5 separate regions of the Homo sapiens genome follow, and regions 1, 3, 4 and 5 are each linked to region 2. Evidence: promoter capture Hi-C in 16 types of primary human blood cells and fetal thymus (Javierre and others, 2016). All regions are on one chromosome and are shown on one strand. The core of a region is centred on a gene start or on the middle of the fragment in contact, and the rest is flanking DNA. Distances in the headings are between cores, read along the strand shown.

What was found. Contacts are between HindIII fragments. The CHiCAGO score rates a contact against its expected background, and 5 or more counts as called.
Region 1: a fragment that was not itself captured here is called in contact with the fragment with the promoter of ATP1A1-AS1 in region 2 in 6 of 17 cell types (naive CD4 T cells, non-activated CD4 T cells, total CD4 T cells and 3 more); the score reaches 13.8 in naive CD4 T cells.
Region 3: a contact is called between a fragment that was not itself captured here and the fragment with the promoter of ATP1A1-AS1 in region 2, in 3 of 17 cell types (non-activated CD4 T cells, naive CD4 T cells and total CD8 T cells). The highest score is 7.0, in non-activated CD4 T cells.
Region 4: a contact is called between a fragment that was not itself captured here and the fragment with the promoter of ATP1A1-AS1 in region 2, in 13 of 17 cell types (non-activated CD4 T cells, naive CD4 T cells, total CD4 T cells and 10 more). The highest score is 16.6, in non-activated CD4 T cells.
Region 5: a contact is called between a fragment that was not itself captured here and the fragment with the promoter of ATP1A1-AS1 in region 2, in 1 of 17 cell types (non-activated CD4 T cells). The highest score is 5.0, in non-activated CD4 T cells.

The regions. Positions count from the first base shown.
Region 1 is chr1:116,236,309-116,240,221 of GRCh38, forward strand. No RefSeq gene overlaps it. Among named protein-coding and RNA genes, the nearest start is that of MAB21L3, 130 kb to the left of the region's middle. The HindIII fragment of the contact is 5,307 bases long and covers 1-3,913 here.
Region 2 is chr1:116,417,002-116,421,057 of GRCh38, forward strand. ATP1A1-AS1 (ATP1A1 antisense RNA 1) reads right to left here and starts at 1,621. Exons shown (of 3, transcript NR_027646.1): 1 at 1,458-1,621. RefSeq lists an enhancer at 1,446-1,740 and a silencer at 1,700-1,829. The HindIII fragment of the contact is 1,476 bases long and covers 751-2,226 here.
Region 3 is chr1:116,256,128-116,260,041 of GRCh38, forward strand. No RefSeq gene overlaps it. Among named protein-coding and RNA genes, the nearest start is that of ATP1A1, 120 kb to the right of the region's middle. The HindIII fragment of the contact is 1,112 bases long and covers 1,683-2,794 here.
Region 4 is chr1:116,167,923-116,171,749 of GRCh38, forward strand. It overlaps LOC124904384 (a long non-coding RNA gene), which reads right to left and starts at 918. Exons shown (of 2, transcript XR_007066496.1): 1 at 694-918. RefSeq lists silencers at 541-650, 1,715-1,898, 3,286-3,580 and an enhancer at 851-940. The HindIII fragment of the contact is 6,818 bases long and covers 1-3,827 here.
Region 5 is chr1:116,187,294-116,191,040 of GRCh38, forward strand. No RefSeq gene overlaps it. Among named protein-coding and RNA genes, the nearest start is that of MAB21L3, 78 kb to the left of the region's middle. The HindIII fragment of the contact is 2,338 bases long and covers 1,318-3,655 here.

The DNA.
Region 1 (3,913 bases), core at 744-3,243, 180 kb before region 2:
CCAGTAGTGAGATTGCTGGATCAAATAGTAGATCTATTTTTAGTTCTTTAAGGAATCCACTGGAGCATTTTTAATTAAAGTAGAGGCATGATCAGATTTTCAGAGATCTGCCAGTGGTACAAAAATGGGGAAGACACAAAATAGGGGAACCAGTCAGGGGATAATTACATACATAGGTAAGAGAGGTAGTGCTGGTTCATTTATTTTAATTGCTGTATAGCATTCCATTGCAAGACTATACCACAATTTACTTATCTATTCTCCCACTGAAAGATATTTAGTTTATTTCCAACTGTTAAATATTACAAAAATCCCTTAATGATCAGTTTTGTCAGTTTCTCCAAGTACATATATGAGAGTGTCTAGTGAAATACCGACGAATGGGATCGTCAGGTCATGGAGTAGGAGTGCCTTCAAGTTTACTAAATTGCCAAGTTGCTGTCTCCAAAGTCACTGCAAAAACATCTACTCTTGTCAGTATTTTGTGAAAGTTACTATTGTTCTACAATCTCAACACTTGGACATTATCAAAAATTGAAATTTCAATTTTTGATACATGGAAAATTGTATCTCACCGTTGTTCTAATTTTTATTCCCAAGATTGTTGGTGAGGTTGTATATCTCTTCTTATTTCTCTTGGCCAACACAGAGGTTTCCTTCTCTGTGAATTCTGTATATGTCTTTTGCCCCTTTTTCTAGTGGGTCACTTGTCTTATTTCGTTAATTTGTAGTTTGTCTTGAATTTTTGTATTCAAATCCTTTGTCGGCTATATGCTTTGCAAAATTCTTCCCACCTGTGGCTTCTCTTTTTGCTTTGTTTTATGGCACCGTTTATTATATGGTGTACTAGTTTCTTCATGCTACTTTGACAAATTACCACAAACTTAGTGACTAAATCAGAAAATGTATTATCTTCTAGTTCTGGAGGTCAGAAGTCTGACTTGGCTTACACTGGCTTAAAATCAAGATGTGGGCTGGGCTGCATTCCTGCGGGGAATCAATTTCCTTGCTTTTTCAGCTTCTGGGTGCCTACATTTCCCGGCTTGTGGCCTCTCCCTCCATCTTCAAAGCCGGCTACATAGAATCTCTCACTCTGACACTCCTGCTCCTCCTTTTTCAGGATATTGGGCCAAAAGTATTAAATAGTTCACTTTCCTACCAATCTGCTATGACATCTTTATCATATAGCCAGCTTTCATAAATGCATGGGTTTGCTTCTGAGCTCCGTCTTATGTTCTTTTAATTATTTATACCCTTGTTTCTCAAAGTGTGGTCCATGAACCAGCAGCACCAGCATCACCTGGCAGCTTGTTAGGTCTCAAGCCCCACCCCAGACCTTCTTAATAAAGGATCTGTGGTTCACAAGATCTCCACAAGAGTCACAGTTGGAGCATGAAAGTTTGAGAAGCCCTGGTCTACCTGATGCTTTTGAAATCTTAAATAATATAACTTTATATCAAGTATCAATACTTAGTAAGTCAAGTTCCCTCTTCGTTCTTCTTCGTGTAAAATTCATAGTTTAACTCGGGAAGGATTGGAAATCTTATAATAATCTAAGTTCATAAGTTTGTCATATTTCTTCACTTATTTAGGTCTTTTTAAATGGTTTTCAGTAAATTCTGATAATTTTCTTTACAGGGGTCTTGCTTAACTCTTGTTGTGGGTTTTATGCATACGAGCCTTATAGATTTCGTTGCTGTTGAAGATGGTGTTTTTAAAAATTACCTTTTCTAATTGGTGCAGATATATTGGATTACAATGTGTATATTGATCTAGCAACCTGGCAGACAGTTTTTATTAGGGCTAATAGTGTTTCTGTAGACTCTCTTGGCCTTGTCTTTTTTGTAGATAGTAAAATTGCCCGTGAATAATAATAGCTTTGTTCCTTTTTTTCCTGTCTTTTCAACTTTATTATTCTTGTGTTAATCCACTAGATAGGATTTTTCAATATAATGATGAGTAGAAGTAGTGAAGCAGAGATAGTCTTGATCCTAAACTTAAGGGAAAATTATTTTCATATTTTCAACATTAAAAGCAGTAATTTTTTGAGGGATATACTTTATAAGGCTAGAAAAGTATTCTCTTTTCTCGTTTGCCACAATTTTTATAAAATTAGAAATGGATATTAACTTTTATCAAGTGTGTTTTATGTGTCTACTGAATTGCCCAGTATGCATACAAAGTGGGCTGAAAGGGAACCCCTTGCAATGGCAATTATGTTAGACTGGAGAGGCTATGGGGGTTATTTTCATTATTATTCTGTTTGTAATACAGTTACATTGCTTCCATATTTGAAATACTTCCTTCTTCAGGGTACCCAGTTGGAGTGTTTCAGGATCCAAATGAAATATATTTTTCTGTACCGAGAATATCAGCCTATTGAGTGATGTTAAGGAAAGGATATCTACAGGCCAGGTGCAGTGGCTTATGCCTGTGATCCCAGCACTTTCGGAGGCCGAGGTGGGCAGATCACCTGAGGTTGGGAGTTTGAGACCAGCCTGACCAACATGGAGAAACCCCATCTCTACTAAAAATACAAAATTAGCCAGGTGTGGTGGCATATGCCTGTAATCCCAGCTACTTGGGAGGCTAGGGCAGGAGAATCGCTTGAACCTGGGAGGCCAAGATTGTGCCATTGCACTCCAACCTGGGTGACAAGAGCGAAATTCCATCTCGAAAAAACAAAAGGAAAGGATATCTACAAAAATTCAGATCACATAAGCTCTCACATATTTAAAAAGTATTTATTGAACACTAATTATATTCCAGACACTGTGCTAGAAGCAAGGATTAAAAAACTGAGCAAGATCAGGCCCCTTTCTCAGAGAGGGAGCATTGTGAGGTGCTTAAAAGTCCTAGAACCAGAGTAACATTTTACAAGCAGTTGATCTTGCGTAAATTACTTACTTAAGCTCTTTCAGTTTCAATTACCTCATGTGTAAAATGATAATATAAAATAATAATAAAGCATTCTAATGAATTTGGCAGTGATTAAGAGGTCACTAATATTTCTACTTAAACAATAAGGAAAATATATCTTCTCACATACAAAGAAATTGTGATACACCTTGGTTGGTTACTCCAATCATCAATGGACTCAAGGACTCAAATATTTTTTATTTCTTGCTTCTGACATTTTCTTTCTGTCTCCTTATTCCCAGCTAGTTCCCCTCCTGCTTGCAAAAGTATTTACCAAGGTCTCTGCCATCAAGAAACTTTCAAAAAGTGCCTCACCTTCCTCTAACCATTAAACTTCTCTTCATCGTTCACTGACCAGAATTGTATGAAATGTCCATGCTGAACCTAATCAACTCTAAGAGAAATTAGATCACAGTAATTGGCCCCAACCAATTACTGTGATCTAATTTCTCTTAGAGTTGGGAGGTATCTTTCCTTGAGGAAGACCAGTAGACATCCAAACAAAATTAGAGCTCTGACAGCCATGATGAAATGAATGGGCTATGTGGTAAGTGCGGTATTATGACATATATATACTCTGGTTTTCATCCATGGTCCCTGGCTCATAACTCCTAAAGCCCTTGTTGCAGTCTTTTGCTATAATGTTGGAGTGCTTCAGGCCTCAGAAGAAGGCCTCAGAAAACAGACTCTCTCTCTCTCTCTGACTTTCTCCTGCCCTCCTTTCCTCCTTTCATCTTCCCTCACTTTTCTGTCTTGGAGCTGGCCATGAAGAAATTTTCCTGACCTACTTGTCTGATTGTAAACCATAAGATCCTCATTTCAGAAAGGGTCCTGCCCCATGCCCAGAAGGAAGGAATGCTGCACACAGAGGCCAAGAAGAATCTGAACAAACAGGCCTTGCTGGGTTTCCCCACTCAGTCTGTTAGCATGAGACCATACTCTTTTGGTCCAATAGCATTTCTACCTGGTTGTCAATCATGCCTACTCAATGAAG
Region 2 (4,056 bases), core at 371-2,870:
TTCTGGTTCTCTGCAGCTTACTAGCTGTGACCTTCAACAAGTCTCTCTTAACCTGAGTCTTAGCTTTCCAATATGTAAAATGGACACAGCATTGTGAGGGTGGTTGGGAGGATTAAATGAGATCAGAGAATTTAGCACCATGACTGTAAAGAGAAAGGGCTCTACAAATGTAGCTGGTACTACAATTCACTTTTTTTTTTTTGAGACAGGACCTGACTGTCACCCAGGCTGGAGTGCACTGGCATGATTACAGCTCACTGCAGCCTCGACCTGCCAGGCTCAAGCCATCCTCCCACCTCAGCCTCCAGAGTAACTGGGACTACAGGCATGCGCCACCACATCCTGCTAATTTTTATATTTTTTGTAGAGATGGGGTTTTTGCATGTTGCCAGGCTGATTTCAAACTTCTGAGCTCAAGCCATCTGCCTGCCTTGGCCTCCTAAAGTGTTGGGATTATAGGCAAATGAGCCACCACGCCAGCCCACAATTCACTTTAAACACAAGTGAAACACATTTCATTAGACAGTGGAATAGACTTATGTCAATTTTCTTTTCTCTCTTATTTTACACAGTCTGATTTCCTGAAGACAGGAGGCGGGAGTAAGCTAATCAGGCCCTGAGTTAGCTGTTTCCAAGAAGCTTAGAGTGTCCCACTTACCTACGGGTTGCAGGGCCCGCATTGCCAGTAGGGCTGGCTTTTAGGGATGCTGCTGTTGGTGTGTGCTGTACTTGTTTTCTAGGATTGGGACAAGCTTCCTTGAGCTCCTGACTTTAGAGACCAGGTTTGGGAACTGATGGGTGCAGCAAATGCAAACAGACAGCAAACAGGCCAAAGAGGAGATTCATTCACTGAAGAGGGCCCTGGTACAGTACTGTCGAGGTTTTGCGGTGGCCTGGACACGGCTGGCTCCTTCGACTTACACAATATATCTTCTCTCTCTCTTACCTGCACTTATAAGAATCGGTGCTAAGGGTATGTGCCTACCACAGTGCAGCTTGTAGATTAATGAAGAAAGAATTGCTGCCACTTCCCAAATATTAAACGCCAGGTTCTGCCTATGCATATTCTCTCAACCTTCACAACACACCTACTAACTCCAGCTTACAAATGAGGAGACGAACCAGCAGGCTGTTCCAGGCGTCTGGTTGTAAGAGCAGTGGCAGTAGAGAAAATGATTTATTTTAGCACCAGCCACTGTGCTAATCCCTTTAGATATCATCTCATTTAATCCTTTTAACAACCCTGAAGCACCATCCTTATTCTAAAGGGACTTCGGACCTCTCTGCGGTCCACACTGTCCCCTGCTCGGTGCAGGAGTGTAGACTGGGACTGTTCCGTCTGGTGGTCTCCCCGACAAGGGTTCACCTGGAAACTGGCCTTTGGGCTGGGATTGGGACTCTGTACTTAGGCTGGCAGCCCATATTAGGACTGGGCACCGTGATAAGCACTTTCTTACCGCAAATGCACGATTTCACTCGGCCCTCACACACCCCACGAGGTGGGCACCGTCACAGTGCCATCTCACAGGCAAGGAGGCCAGGCCCAGGCCCTGAGGATGCGCCGCTCAGGTGGGAGCTTCCGGGGAGCTCGCGCGACAGCCTGGGGGAGCGCGGATTCGTCTCTGCGCTACGGCGGCTGCAGAGGGTCAACCCGCGGAGGCGGCGCTTCGCGGCGGGTCCTCGGCCTGAGGCTGTGGGATGCCTCCAAACCCGGCGCGGCCTCCGTCTGCAAGGAGAGCAGAGGGTCCCCGCCGGGAGCGCGCCCGGCTGCGGCCCCAGGCGGCCCTGCCCGCAGCCGCCACCTGAGCTTGGGCGCGGCTCCTATCTCCCACCCGCGCGTCGGCCAGTGAAGGGCTCCGTGCTTAAACATCATTCGTTACAGAAGTATTGCGGCCATCACACGGCATTTTAAAAACACGAATGATGATAAATAACTTTAACACTGCTTCCAATTCTGCCTCCAAGCACAGCATCATTACCATTTGCATGCGTTTCACTTCATTCGATTTCCATGTGTATGGATTTGTTTCTACATAGCTGTGGTAAAACGCACATACTAAACTGAATCCAGGGTTGTTTTCCACTTTGTAACATGAACATTTTCACCGTGTTAGTACTGACGCTTCCTACCTATAATTTTTAATGGCAGGACTTTAAAAAATTGGGTTGATACGCTGTCACTTCTCTGAGCATCTCGCAAATGTTCAACATTCAAGTGGCTTCCAAAGCTTCACGATTATAAATTATTCATTCTTTTTTGTTTTGTTTGGTTGTTTGTTTGTTTGTTTGTTTGTTTTTTGAGACGATGTCTCGCTCTTGTCGCCCAGGCTGGAGTGCAGTGGCGCGATCTCAGCTCACTGCAACCTTCGCCTTCCAGGTTCAAGAGATTCTCCTGCCTCAGCCTCCTGAGTAGCTGAGATTACGGGCATCTGCCACCACGCCCACCTAATTTTTGTACTTTCAGTAGAGACGGGGTTTCATCATGTTGGCCAGGCTGGTCTCGAACTTCTGACCTCAGGTGCTTCTCCCTCGACCCGGCCTCGGCCTCCCAAAGTGCTGGGATTACAGCACTTTGCTGCCCAGCCCATTCTTGTGTATAAAGTCCTTTCAGTATTGAGATCAGTTTCCTTAGGTTATATTCACAGGAGTGAAACTGCTAAGTCAGAATGTGAGCATTTAAAAGCTTTCAGTATTATTGCCAAATGGCTTTTCACAGATGACTCAGGGAGGTTTTGGTACTTGGAACACTGCTACTTATATCCCACTCCCCCCCCCCCCCACCAGGAAAACATCTAAAGTGCACTTTTTTTTTTTTTTTTTTTTTTTTTGTGAGACGGTATCTCGCTCTGTCGCCCAGGCTGGAGTGCAGTGGCGCGATCTCCGTTCACTGCAAGCTCCGCCTCCCAGGTTCACGCCATTCTCCTGCCTCAGCCTCCTGAGTAGCTGGGACTACAGGCGCCCGCCACCACGCCCGGCTAATTTTTGTGTTTTTAGTAGAGACGGGGTTTCACCGTGTTAGCCAGGATGGTCTGGATCTCTGACCTTGTGATCCGCCCGCCTCGGCCTCCCAAAGTGCTGGGATTACAGGCGTGAGCCACCGCGCCCGGCTAAAATGCAGTTTCATTAAGAGATAGTGACCCTTTCTGAGAGTGTCTACATTTAATTGGGATCAGAGCTTGAAGTTGAAAATTTTGTGCCCTGGGACTTCAGACATCAGAAAACAGGGTAGGAAGATTCTCACGGGTTAGGATTTTTCTGGTGACCCTGAGTGGGGGAGCCACTTATTCTGCCTTCACTTAAGGCTAAACTAGACTCCCGGCCCTGCGTAGAGTTCTGAGGGACACCAGGGTCACAAGGCTAGTGAGACAGAGTTCATTTGGAAGAAGTGAAATAATTTAGGAATTCACAGAATATTGATGATGATATCCTTCCTCCTCCAGATGACAAGGTAATAAAGAATAATGAGATGTGATCATGGGAAATAGCCACCATGAGCAGCAGCCACCAAGGCACATAAATACTGTGGAATTGACTCTGCTGTCAGCTTGTGGGTTTCTGGAGTGACAGATTAAACCAAACTCAGTCCAGCTTCTTGTTTACTCTGTGTAAATCTACTCACTGTCCAGAATCTTCAGGCCGGTGTTGCCACCACTTGTTCTGTCTGTGATTCCCAGTGATGAGTAGGAGGTGACCAGCAGGCAGACTGTCTCCCTATGGGTAGGGAGCCTCAGAGTTCTGCAGGGACTGGGGTATAGGTAGAAGATGAAAAAAATATCCTTTCTGAATCAGCTCTTTGCCTGTCTGGGCAAACCCCTACGTTTCCTATCCACACTTTCTCTGCTCTAGGACCTAAGCCTTGGAGAGTTGCCCCCAGTTCATTGACAAGCTCCCTACACTAGAGTCCTTTTGTAGTGGGCATTGGGGTGCACCACCCAGATTTCTCTTTAGAACTGGTGAACTTATTCCCTCAAGCTGCTGGGGATTTGCTGGCAGACAGACCTCTCCAGGAAGTGCCTTAGCTGAAGAGAGATCCTCACTCAAGGTCACACCCCACCC
Region 3 (3,914 bases), core at 989-3,488, 160 kb before region 2:
AGCCTAAAATAGGAGCTGAGCATGAAGAAACCTGAGCCTGGGGGAGAGTGTCTTGACAGCAAAATGCAGGTGCCTTGTTCTTTCTTTCAATTCACCTAGCTTCCCTTTTCCAAAGCGATTCTCCTGCCTCAGCCTCCCAAGTAGCTGTGAAAACAGGTGTGTGCCACCATGCCCAGCTAATTTTTTTAATTTTAATTTTTAGTATAGACAAGGTCTTACTGTGTAACCCAGGCTGGTCTGGAACCCCTGAGCTCAAGTGATCCTCTCGTCTCAGCCTCCCAAAGTATACTGTAATGTTTTGATAACTGACCACACATTCTGCCCTGGCATTCCTTTTGATTAGAGGCCCGTGACAGATCCCTCTGCATCCCCAGCTGTCCACATACCTTTTCATTTTCCCCATTTGGTTTTCAAGCTCATGGATTGTGATATTTGCACAATTTGTGTCAAAGCCACAGCAACTATGGACCCCATCCATAAAGATTCCTTTATCACTTAGACCTTTCCTGGGCTTCCTTTCAGGTAAAGCCTCAGGCCCTTCCTCCACTGTCATCTGCTCCATGTTGCTGTTGAAAGCTGGGCTTGCCAGAACCCCTTGGTCCCTGTCCTAGCCTTCCTTGAGGGTACAGTTCCCACTGGGCTGGCCTCTAGCCCCTCCACACCTACGTCACAACAGTGATGGTCATTTCTGAAATAAATAGAACAGGCATGAAGACAGTGGAGTCTAGCTAACCTGTGGCTGAGAGACATAATGAAGTAATTATGTGTTCACTTTTAAAAGGTTCCCAAGGCTTCTACCAGGGCTGCAGGTTGAATGACCAGTAATCCCTTAGGGTGCAGTTAAGATACCTGTGTCTGGGACAAAGACTTCCAAGTAGAACAGGCCAGCCGACTGCTAGGCTGGGTTGGATGGGACCAGTCCTCTCCGGCTGGGATCCTGGGGAGCCTTTCCCTGCCTTATCTCCTGGTTCACCACTCTGTACCAAGCATTCATATCTCAGTGACCCCACCCAGCTGTGCCAGAGGGAGAGTTCCCTAACTGCTGCTGTTTGGACAAAAATCAGGCAAAACCAAGCCCAATGCATCAATTTTATGCCCGTCACTGCAACCAAGTCACATTTGAAGGGACCCCAGCTGGCTGGCACCTGCCCCTCCCTCCCTCTGAGTTTTAGAGTTGAGGAAACTCTCATAAACCTTCTAATGCTGGGACTACACATTTTATTGTAATCATAAATAGAACATAATACCACAACAGGTGCACTGGGATGCTTGCTTAAATAATAAATGCAGTCAGCTTTGTTGCCTATTCACCCAGTCCTTCAGGTGCCTGAACAGCTGTGGGCTAGGGGTGGTGGAAGCTTCTGCCCAGGGTTGTATTGCTCAGGGAGAATCAGAGAGAAAATGTCCTTACCTTGAACTCAGGTTGTACAGTGTGAATGCTGACATACACCGCAGTTCTTCCACACCTATGTGGTGTGGGGCCCAGTTCGAATACCAGCTGTGTGTCGTGGAAAGACCATTTAACCACACTGAGTCTGTTTTCTCACTTGTGAAACTAAGATGCTAGAATTTAGGGTAATTCTGATGAGTAAATGAGTCAGGGAGTGTGGTTCTGGGGCCTGTGTTCCCTCTGTCAAAATCCACTCACTCCCTGGGGCTGTGATCGAGAAATCTGCCCCTGAAGCTTGTCCTTGGTCAGAGAAGCCCCCTAAGGGTTAAAAGACAATTATGGACCACTTCAACCCACTAGGATAGTGCTTATTAAAAAATAAAAAAGAAAGAAAGAAAAGAAAAACCTAGAAAATAACAAGTGTCAGTGAGGATGTGGAGAAATTGGAAACCTTGTGCACTGTTGATGGGAACGTATGATGGTGCAACCTTTGTGGAAGTTCCTCAAAAAATTAAAAATAAAGCTACCATATGATCCAGCAATTCCACTTCTGGGTATTTACACAAAAGAAGTAAAAGCAGAAACTCAAGGAGATATTTGTATGTCCATGTTCATAGCAGCGCTATTCACAATAGCTACAACATGGAAGCAACCCAAGGGCCCGTTAATGGATGAATGGATGAAAACAATGTGGAGTATAGTTCAGCCTTAAAAAGGGAGGAAATTTTGACATATGCTACAACATGGAGGAACTTTGAGGACATTACACTAAGTGAAATAAAATAGGCATGAAAGAACAAGTACCGTACTCATACAGGACTGTACGCACTCATTCAAAGTAACTACAGTGCTCAAAGTCACAGAGACAGAAAGTAGAATGGTGGTTGTTGGGGGTTAGGGGGAGGAGGGAGGAGGAGTTGCTGTTTAACGGGTACAGAGTTTTAGTTTTGCAAAATGAAAAGAGTTGTAGAGATGGTGCGCACCATGATGTCAATGTGCTTAACATAAGTGAACTATGGTTAAAATGGTAAATTTAAGGATATGTGTATTTTACCACAATAAGAGAGAAAGAGAATTGTAGAGCACAATGGAAGTGACAGTTGAAGGAGTCTTCAACCAGTGCAGGCACTTTCATTTGTTTTATTTCCTCTACAGGTGTAGAAAATAATAATACTATAGTAAATGCTATTGAGCATTAACCTGGCTTTGCCCATATCATCACCTCCAATTTTTATAGCAATCCAGTTAAGTAGGTAGCATCATCCCCAGTTAACATTAGGAAACTATGGTTCAGGGGTTGGGTAAGAATGGAATGAGTTATGGCATTAGCCAGCTACTTCCTGGTACAGGGCTTCAGTGGTCATGACGGTGTGTACTAGGCTCTGGGGGCATACATGTACTTGAAGCTTCTTTGTGGTCTCTGGAAACTCTTGGTCATATTGAGAAGACATACGCAGTGAGAAAGGCTCAAACTGGAGCCTTGAGGGCACAGGAAGGTGGAATCACCGAGACTTGGGAGTTCATAAAAAGAAGCAAGCACTGAATTGGCTGAAAAGGGGGAAGTGTTGAAGGGCCTAAATTCTGGGGGACAGAAGGTAAACAGTAGATTTAGACGGAAAATATTATTTATTAGCAGGAAAAAAGTGAAGTGCAATTACAAACAAGATTTCCTAATGTGGGTATGTGGGTAAAAGGTCATCAGGCTGGGAAAGCCAATGTAGGGATTGCAATTGGAAGCACATTCAAGTCCAGGTAATAATAGCTAATACTTATTGAGCCCGGCTTGTGTGGCAGGTACTGTTCCAAACTCTTTACATACATAATGCATTCAATCCTCACAACAACCCAATGAGGTAAATCTTATTCATTGCACTCACTGTATAGATGAGGAAACAGACTCAGAGAAGTGAAGCGATTTAGTCCAACATCGCAGAGCCAGAGAGTAGCAGAGCCAGGATGCAAATTCAGAATGTGGACTCCAGAGCCCTAACACCCAACTCTGACTCTGTGGGGTGATCACAAACATGAGTCTTTATTATTTAACCAAAATTTTTTGTGCTTGGTCATAGACATGATGAGCAACCTTGTTCGGTCAGAAATTAATATTTTGAGAATAGTTGCTGATATTTGTGTTTTGTGCATAACACTTATCACAGATGCTTACAAAAAGCTGGTAGACTTTTTGTCTACCAAAAAGTATGAGGAGCTGTAAAGGTGGGAGGGCTTCTCTATGTTCCTGCTCAGAGCCAGTAACCATGGCAACAGTAAATTATAACTTCACTGCTGCAGACCCACACAGCTAGCAGAGATTACAATAGATGGTCACTGAGATCATCAAGGACCTAAGTTGGTCAGGATGTGGTCGATTTAAGTGACAGAAACCTAACTCAAACTAGCTTAAGCAAGAGGACAAAAATCTGGCTTATCAAACACATTTCAGGAACAGCCTGGAGTGGAACCAGCTTAGAAACACACACTGTCAACAGAGACTTCATAGACATCGGTCCTCAAGACCCCACCCTAA
Region 4 (3,827 bases), core at 1,241-3,740, 250 kb before region 2:
TCGGGGTCTCCCAGCCAGGACACACAAGGCAGGCTGGGGAGCCAGGGTCAGCCAGGGCACGCCGCTGAGATGTCTTTCCTGCTCCTTCTCCCCGGGAAGCAAGGGAAGCAAAAGGCCAGAGGGGTGCTGGGATCGCTGTCCGCAGCACCAGCCTTCTCCTGGGACGTGTTCAGAAAGAGGGAGGCTACAGTGGGCGGGGAGAGAAGAAGGAAGAGAAGGTGGGCAGAAAGGGGGCAAGATGAAGCGGCAAGGAGGAGGGAAAGGAGAAGCTAAGGAGGGAGGATGGGGAGGCGGCGACAATGGCCGCGCTACCGGTCGCCCACTGTGCTGCGGTGGGTCGGGGCCCACTGCCCCTCGCTGGGGCACCTGGGGAGGGGGCGCTGGGGCACCTGGAGAGGGCGCGCAGGAGCAGCGGGCCGAGCCTTCTGCGGGGATGGGGTGGGAAGAGAAGAAATGAAGACACAGAGGAGTAGAACAAAGAGGCGGGAGCACCCCGCCAGGGGACCGGGAAGGGTCGAGGAAAACTGCTGCCGCGCCCCACTGGGTTTTAACAACGCCCGGGATGGGGGAAGGGCTCCCACTTGCGCCCCAAGCGCATGCGGAGAAGGTTCGGCAGCGCCTCCTGCCGGCCGCCCGGAGGGTCCGCGGTGGCGCCAGCCCCGATCGCAGCCGCGCAGGCCCGAGGGCCCCTACCCGCACGGTGAATTGTCTTCCACGCACTAGTATTTTCTCCTCGCTTTCAACTGAATGGCGGCATTGGTTTCACTATTTCCTTCCTGGAGCTGTGGTTGAGGCCGACTGTCCCAGCTAGAATGAAATATTATTGTACTCTAGCCTCTGTCTCTGGTTTGGGATTTGAAGATTTCAGAAAAGATGCATTCTCTCATAATTAATGCAGGTGGCTGTCACTGCGGCCACAGTTGGCCCCAGGCAAAAGAGCACAGACTGAGAAATTGAGGTGAGGGAAAGGAAGTAATAAACACAGCCTAGATAGACGGCAAATGAAACCTTGCTTAACCTACTGCTGAGTACAGGAGCCAGCGGGGCACTGCACCGTCCCCCCTCCACTACTCCACCAACCCTCTACCAAACGCTTTGTATATGTCTCCTCACTTAATCCCCAGAGTCACCCCGTATATTAGCTAGTATTAGCCCCGTTTTACGGATCAGAAGACTACAATTTCAAGAGGTTAAGTCACTTGCTCACAGTCACACTGCCAGCAATAAGAAAGGCTCACATTTGAACCTGGATCTGACTTTGCAGTGTTTTCCTGTCTCCCAGGGAACGCTTCCTTACACACCGCCCCTCTTGATTCCTTCCCTTGGGGACCCAGCATTCCCAGTTTTCTCCTCACCCTCGTTTCCCTACCTCATCCCTAGCCCAGCCTCAGGCACCCATCTGCCCTCTCTAGCTCCACGTCTGCATTGCAATATGTTCTATGAGGAGGATCTGGAACTAGTTCATACCGAGGTTTCAGTGACTGATAGGCACTTAAAGGACCTCCCACCCCCCAAAGAGTTATCTTTAAAGTAGAATCTAAGCCTCCAGTTAGACGAAGTTCTTAAGGACATTGATTCAAGCAAGAGCCAGGAAAGTGGAGCAGTGCTGTGGGTGCAGCAAACCCTACAGGTGCTCCCCAACCCCATAAGCAAGGTCCACTCCTTCTGTGAGCGTTAGCAGATGAGTCTGGAGGGGCGGTGTGATGGGCCCTTAGTTGAGAACCTACTGTGTGCCTGGTACATACTGCCACACACTTCACAAATGTTACCCCCTTTATTCCCCGGAACTATCCATGAGCTGGTTGCAACTTTTCTCTGTTTCACAGAGGAGGGAACCAGGGCCTGCTTAGAGATTCAATAACTTGCCCAAGGAAATGCTGCTAGTAAGTACCTAAATTGATATTTAAACCCATTCTTTCAATCAGTTATTCAGTAAGCATATTTTCTAAATTTTTCTTCTCAAAATTTTTTTTAGAGACGGCTTTTTCCTTTGCTTCCCAGCCTGGAATGCAGTGGCACAATGATAGCTCATGGTATCCTTGACTCCCTGCGCTCAAACGATCCTCCTGACTCAGCTTCCTGATTAGCTGAGGCTACGGGCATGTGCCACAAGGCCCACCTAATTTTTTTTTCTAGCATTGGGGTCTTGCTATGCTGCCCAGGCTGGTCTGGAACTCCCAGTCTCAAGCACTCCTCCAAGCACTCCTCCAACCTCGGCATCCCAAAGTGCTGGGATTACAGGTGTGAGCCACCGTGCCCGACCAAGCACATTTTTCAATCTTTAAGTACTATTTGGCTGTCTGAAGCCATGGAAATGAGATATAATTCTTCTCTCCCTCACTGCTTTTGCTCCCAAGGGACCAAATGGACATATCAACAAATCACTATAGTGAGGTGTTTCAGGCTAGATGTTGTTTGGAGTACCGTGGGTGGGCCATAAACACTAAATACACAGTTCTTCCTAAGGGCAGGAGGTAAGAGAACTATGGAACCAGGCCTGTCCCATCCCCTCCAGAAGTACTGTGGTGTGGGGGAGGGGGCCACAGTGGCTTCAGATGGGACCTCTTAAGAAGTCCCTTGACTCCCCTCCTGTGGGTCTTCTGGCTTCACTGTGGCATCCGGAGATTATTAGATCATTATAAAGTGCTTGCATTTCTTGGTATATTTGGGCAGCTTAATGTATAGGAATCATAATTTTTCTTTGCTTTTCCAGTTCAACAGAGGATGGTTTTAAAATATACTTGACTTGAAGAATAAGGATGAAAAATAAAATGTGGGAGCCTGAGGTAAAAATGGAAAATAGATGAAACTCAAAGTATTTTCAAGGTGTCTTTTTCTCTGTGTTTCTATTTTGCAGGTTTTAAAAGCAGAATTAAAGTGTAAAGTAGAGGGAAATTTCTCTGATGCAGCATTTACATAAGAAACACATTCAGAAAAAGAGGCTGTGATTCTGAACGCGTCCTTATTATACTGCACTAAAAATCTCCCTTGGGATGAGGGAGGTTTAAATTAGTTGGAGAGAGAAGGAAATAAAATCCTCTTTTTCAAAATGCAAATCTCTCCCAAACTAAAAATTCTACCTTAGGAAATGGCCACACAGGGTTCATGAGCAGACAAAGCCCTCATTGTATAAGGACCCCACCTTCTCAAGCCTTCAGCACAATTCACCGGCTTTTCCTACATCTCCTCCACAAGTCCCAACATAGAACTTGGTGCCACATCACAGACCTCAGTAAAATTCACAAGGAGGTTCTTGTTTTTAGTTGTTGTACATTTTGCTGTGGAAATGTATCCACAGGCCATTTTAGTTGACTTGAGAAATCAAAGTTAATGGGAATAGCACAGAATGTCATGCACCTCCACAAGCCCATATTATGTATGTGTGTATTTGCGTATATTTTCTCCAACATCTGTCAATATTTGCATGCTAAACTGCATAGAATTTCACAGACAAGTATAATGCCATTAACATCATGTGCTAGTTAGCTATTGCTACATAGCAAACAACCTCAAACTTAGTGGCTTAAACAGCAACTTTTTTTTTTTTTTGGGATGGAGTCTCACTCTGTTGTCAGGCTGGAGTGCAGTGGTGCGATCTCAGCTCACTGCAACCTCCGTCTCCTGGGTTCAAGTAATTCTCCTGTCTCAGCCTCCCAAGTATCTGGGACTACAGGCACATGCCACCATGCCCAGCTAATTTTTGTATTCTTAGTAGAGACGGGATTTCACCATGTTGGCCAGGATGGTCTCGATCTCTTGACCTTATGATCTGCCCTCCTCGACCTCCCAAAGTGCTGGGATTATAGGCATGAGCCACTGCACCTGTC
Region 5 (3,747 bases), core at 1,237-3,736, 230 kb before region 2:
ATATCCATGGGGTACATGAGATAATTTAATACAGGCATGCAATGTGTAATAATCACATCAGGGTAAATGAGGTATCTATCACCTCAAGCATTTATCCTTTGTGATATAAACATTCCAGTTATACTCTTTTAGTTATTTTAAAACATGCAATTAAATTATTACAGACAAAAGTCACCACGTTGTGCTAGCAAACACCTGATCTTATTCATTCTTTCTATTTTTTGCACCAATTAATCATCCCCACCTCCCCCTCCACTTTGTTCCACTACCCTTCCCAGCCTCTGGTAACCATCCTTCTATGCTCTATCTCCATGAGTTCAGTCATTTTAATTTTTAGCTCCCACAGATAAGTGAGAACGTGCAAAATTTGTCTTTCTGTGCCTGGCCTATTTCACTTAATTTAATGGTATTCCTTGGTTGTCTTTGCTTTCACCTGCCATTTCCCTCACCCTCTCAACCCTCAGCCCAGCATCTGAGAAAGGCCTAGAGTAGGAATTTATGTTTAACACGCATTTAATAGGCACCTAACTTGTATCGGCACTAAAAGCACAGTGATGCACACACTCCCAGCCTTTGTGAAGCTTACAGCTGGCTGATGGAGAACAACAATTAAACAAGCAATAACAATCAAGTGTGGTAAGTTCCATCCAGTTCCATTAATGTTGTTGTAAATGACAGGATCTCATTCTTTTTATGGCTGAATAGTACTCCATTGTGTATTTGAACCACATTTTCTCTATCCACTCATCTACTGATGAACACTTAGGTTGTTTCCCATCTTGGCTGTTGTGAACAGTGCTGCAGCAAGCATGGAAGTGCAGGTATCTCTTTGGTATATGGATTTCCTTTCTTTGGGGGATATACCTAGTAGTGGGATTGCTGGATTGTATGGTAGCTCTATTTTTAGTTTTTTGAGGAACCTCCAAACTGTTCTCTATAGTGGTTGTACTAATCTACATTCCCTTTTCCCCACATCCTTGCCAGCATTCATTATTGCCTGTTTTTTTGATACAAGCCATTTTAGCTGAGGTGACCTGATATCTCATTGTAGTTTTGATTTGCATTTCTCTGATGATCAGTGATGTGGAGCACCTTTTTCTATACCTATTTGCCATTTGTATGTCTTCTTTTGAGAAATGTCTATTCAGATATTTTGCCCATTTTTAATCAGATTATTAGATTCTTTCCTATAGAGTTGTTTGAGCTCCTTATATATTCTGATTATTAATCCCTTGTCAAACGGATAGTTTGCAAATATTTTCTCCCATTCTGTAGATTGTCTTTTCACTTTGTTGATTGTTTCTTTTGCTGTGCAGAAGCTTTTTAACTTGATGTGATCTCATTTGTCAATTTTTGGTTTGGTTTTCTGTACTTGTGAGGTATTACTCAAGAAATTTTTGCCTACTCCAAAGTGCTAGAGAGTTTCCCCCAATGTTTTCTTTTAGTAGTTTCATAGTTTGAGATCTTAGATTTAAGTCTTTAATACATTTTGATTTGATTTTTATATATGATGAGAGATAGAGGTCTAGTTTCATTCTTCTGCATATGTATATCCAGTTTTCTCAGCAGCATTTATTGAAGAGACTCCTTTCCCCAATGTATGTTTTTGGCACCTTTGTCAAAAATGAGTTCACTATAAATGTATGGATTTGTTTCTGAGTTCTGTGTTCTGTTCCAGTGGTTTATGAGTCTGTTTTTATGCCAGTACCATGCTTTTCGGTTATATAGTATAATTTGAAGTCAGGTAATGTGATTCTGCCAGTTTTATTCTTTTTGCTCAGGATAGCTTTGGCTACTCTGAGTCTTTTGGGGTTACATATGCATTTTAGGATAGTTTTTCTCTATTTCTGTGAAGAACGTTATTGGTATTTTGATAGGGATTGCATTGAATCTGTAAATTGCTTTGGGTAGTAAGGATATTTTAACAATATTTATTCTTCCAATCCATGAACATGGAATATCTTTCCATTGTTTTGTGTCCTCTTCAATTTCTTTCATAAATGCTTTACAGTTTTCATTACAGAGATCTTTCATTTATTTAGTTAAGTTTCCTAGGCATTTATTCTATTTGTAGCTATTGTAAATGGTGTTTTTTTAATTTCTTTTTCAGATTGTTTGTTATTGGCATATAGAAAGTTACTTTTTTGTATGTTGATTTTGTATCCTGCAACTTTACTGAATTTATCAGTTCTAATAGTTTTTTAGTTTAGTCTTTAGGTTTTTCCAAATATAAGATCATATCATCTGCAAACAAGGGTGATTTGACTTCTTCCTTTCTAATTTGAATGCCCTTTATTTCTTTCTCTTATCTTATTGTTCTATCTAGGACATTCTCTACTACAGTGTTGATTGGTGTTTAAATTGTTATAGCATTGAGGAAAAGGTATGGGGTGAGTCATTTGGCAGTACTGTACCTATCTAAATTCAAAAGTGCGTAACCTTTGACCCTTGCAATTCCACCTACAGGAATTTATACTTTAGAAATTTGACCTAATTGAAATGTGTGCATGCACACACACACGTGCATGCAAGGACGTTTACTTAAGTATTGCTTAATTTATTAAAAAATAGAAATAACCTAAATGATCTTCAATAAGAGAAAAATTTAATAAATGATGTTTCTCCTGATCTATTAACTATGATTCAGTGGTCAAAAAGAATGAAAAAGATATTATGGTACTGACATGGATAACTCTAAACAATACATTGAAAGTGAATAAAGGAAATTTCAGAACATTTAGTCTATTTTATTCCCTGTTGTATTCTCAGTGCCCAGAGCAGTCCTGGGCACATGGGATGGCTCAAAAGTATTTGTTGCGTGGATATGTGTAGTATGACCCCATTTATATGAATGGAATCATAGCAACTATAAAATCTTTCTCTCACATAAATACACTCGTTTTAAACCCAGGTTTTGGGGTAGTGTATGAAAAATAACAGCTCTGGGTTCAAATCCTAGTTGTCACTTACCAATTGATGGCTCTGAGAAAGTTATTTACCTTCTTTAAGACTCATGTTCCTCATTGGTAACTAAGGCTAATAATAATACTTCATACCTTATAAAGATACTGGGAAGATTCAAAGACAACTGTGTGTTCGTCACTCAAGAACACCTTCATCACCCAAAGCATACCTGATACTTTGCCGTTGCTCACTGAGTGGTTGTTATTTGTATTCTCAATCTCCCTATATTTTCTCTGTATCACATTGGCTACCTAGGAATCTTTTGGTGTGAAGTTAGAGATAACACATTCAGAGTTTTCTGAGATGTAAATGAACTTCACTGTGGCCTTCTGTGGGAGATTTTGCAGGACAATAACCCATCAATAGAGCCTTGGTTATCTTTGCCTTCACCTGCCATTTCCCTCATCCTCTTATCCCTCAGCCCAACATCTGAGAAGGGCCTATAGTAGGAGTTTATGTTTAGTACACATTTAATAGGCATCTGTCATGTATCAGCACTAAAAGTACAGTGATGCACACACTCTCAGCCTTTGTGGTGCTTACAACTGGCTGATGGAGAACAACAATTAAACAAGCAATAACAATAAAGTGTGGTAAGTGCTATGACTGGGTTGGCCATGAGGAGTTAGGAGAGCATTGGCATGGCTTCTGATCTAGCTTAGGAGATCAGAGGAAGTGAGGGCCAATCCCAAGCTTGAAAGCTGATTAGGAGCTAAAGGGGCAGGGAGGAGCTAAGGAGAAGAAAAGGGTTTCAGATGGGGATAACTAGTTATGAAAAGTCTT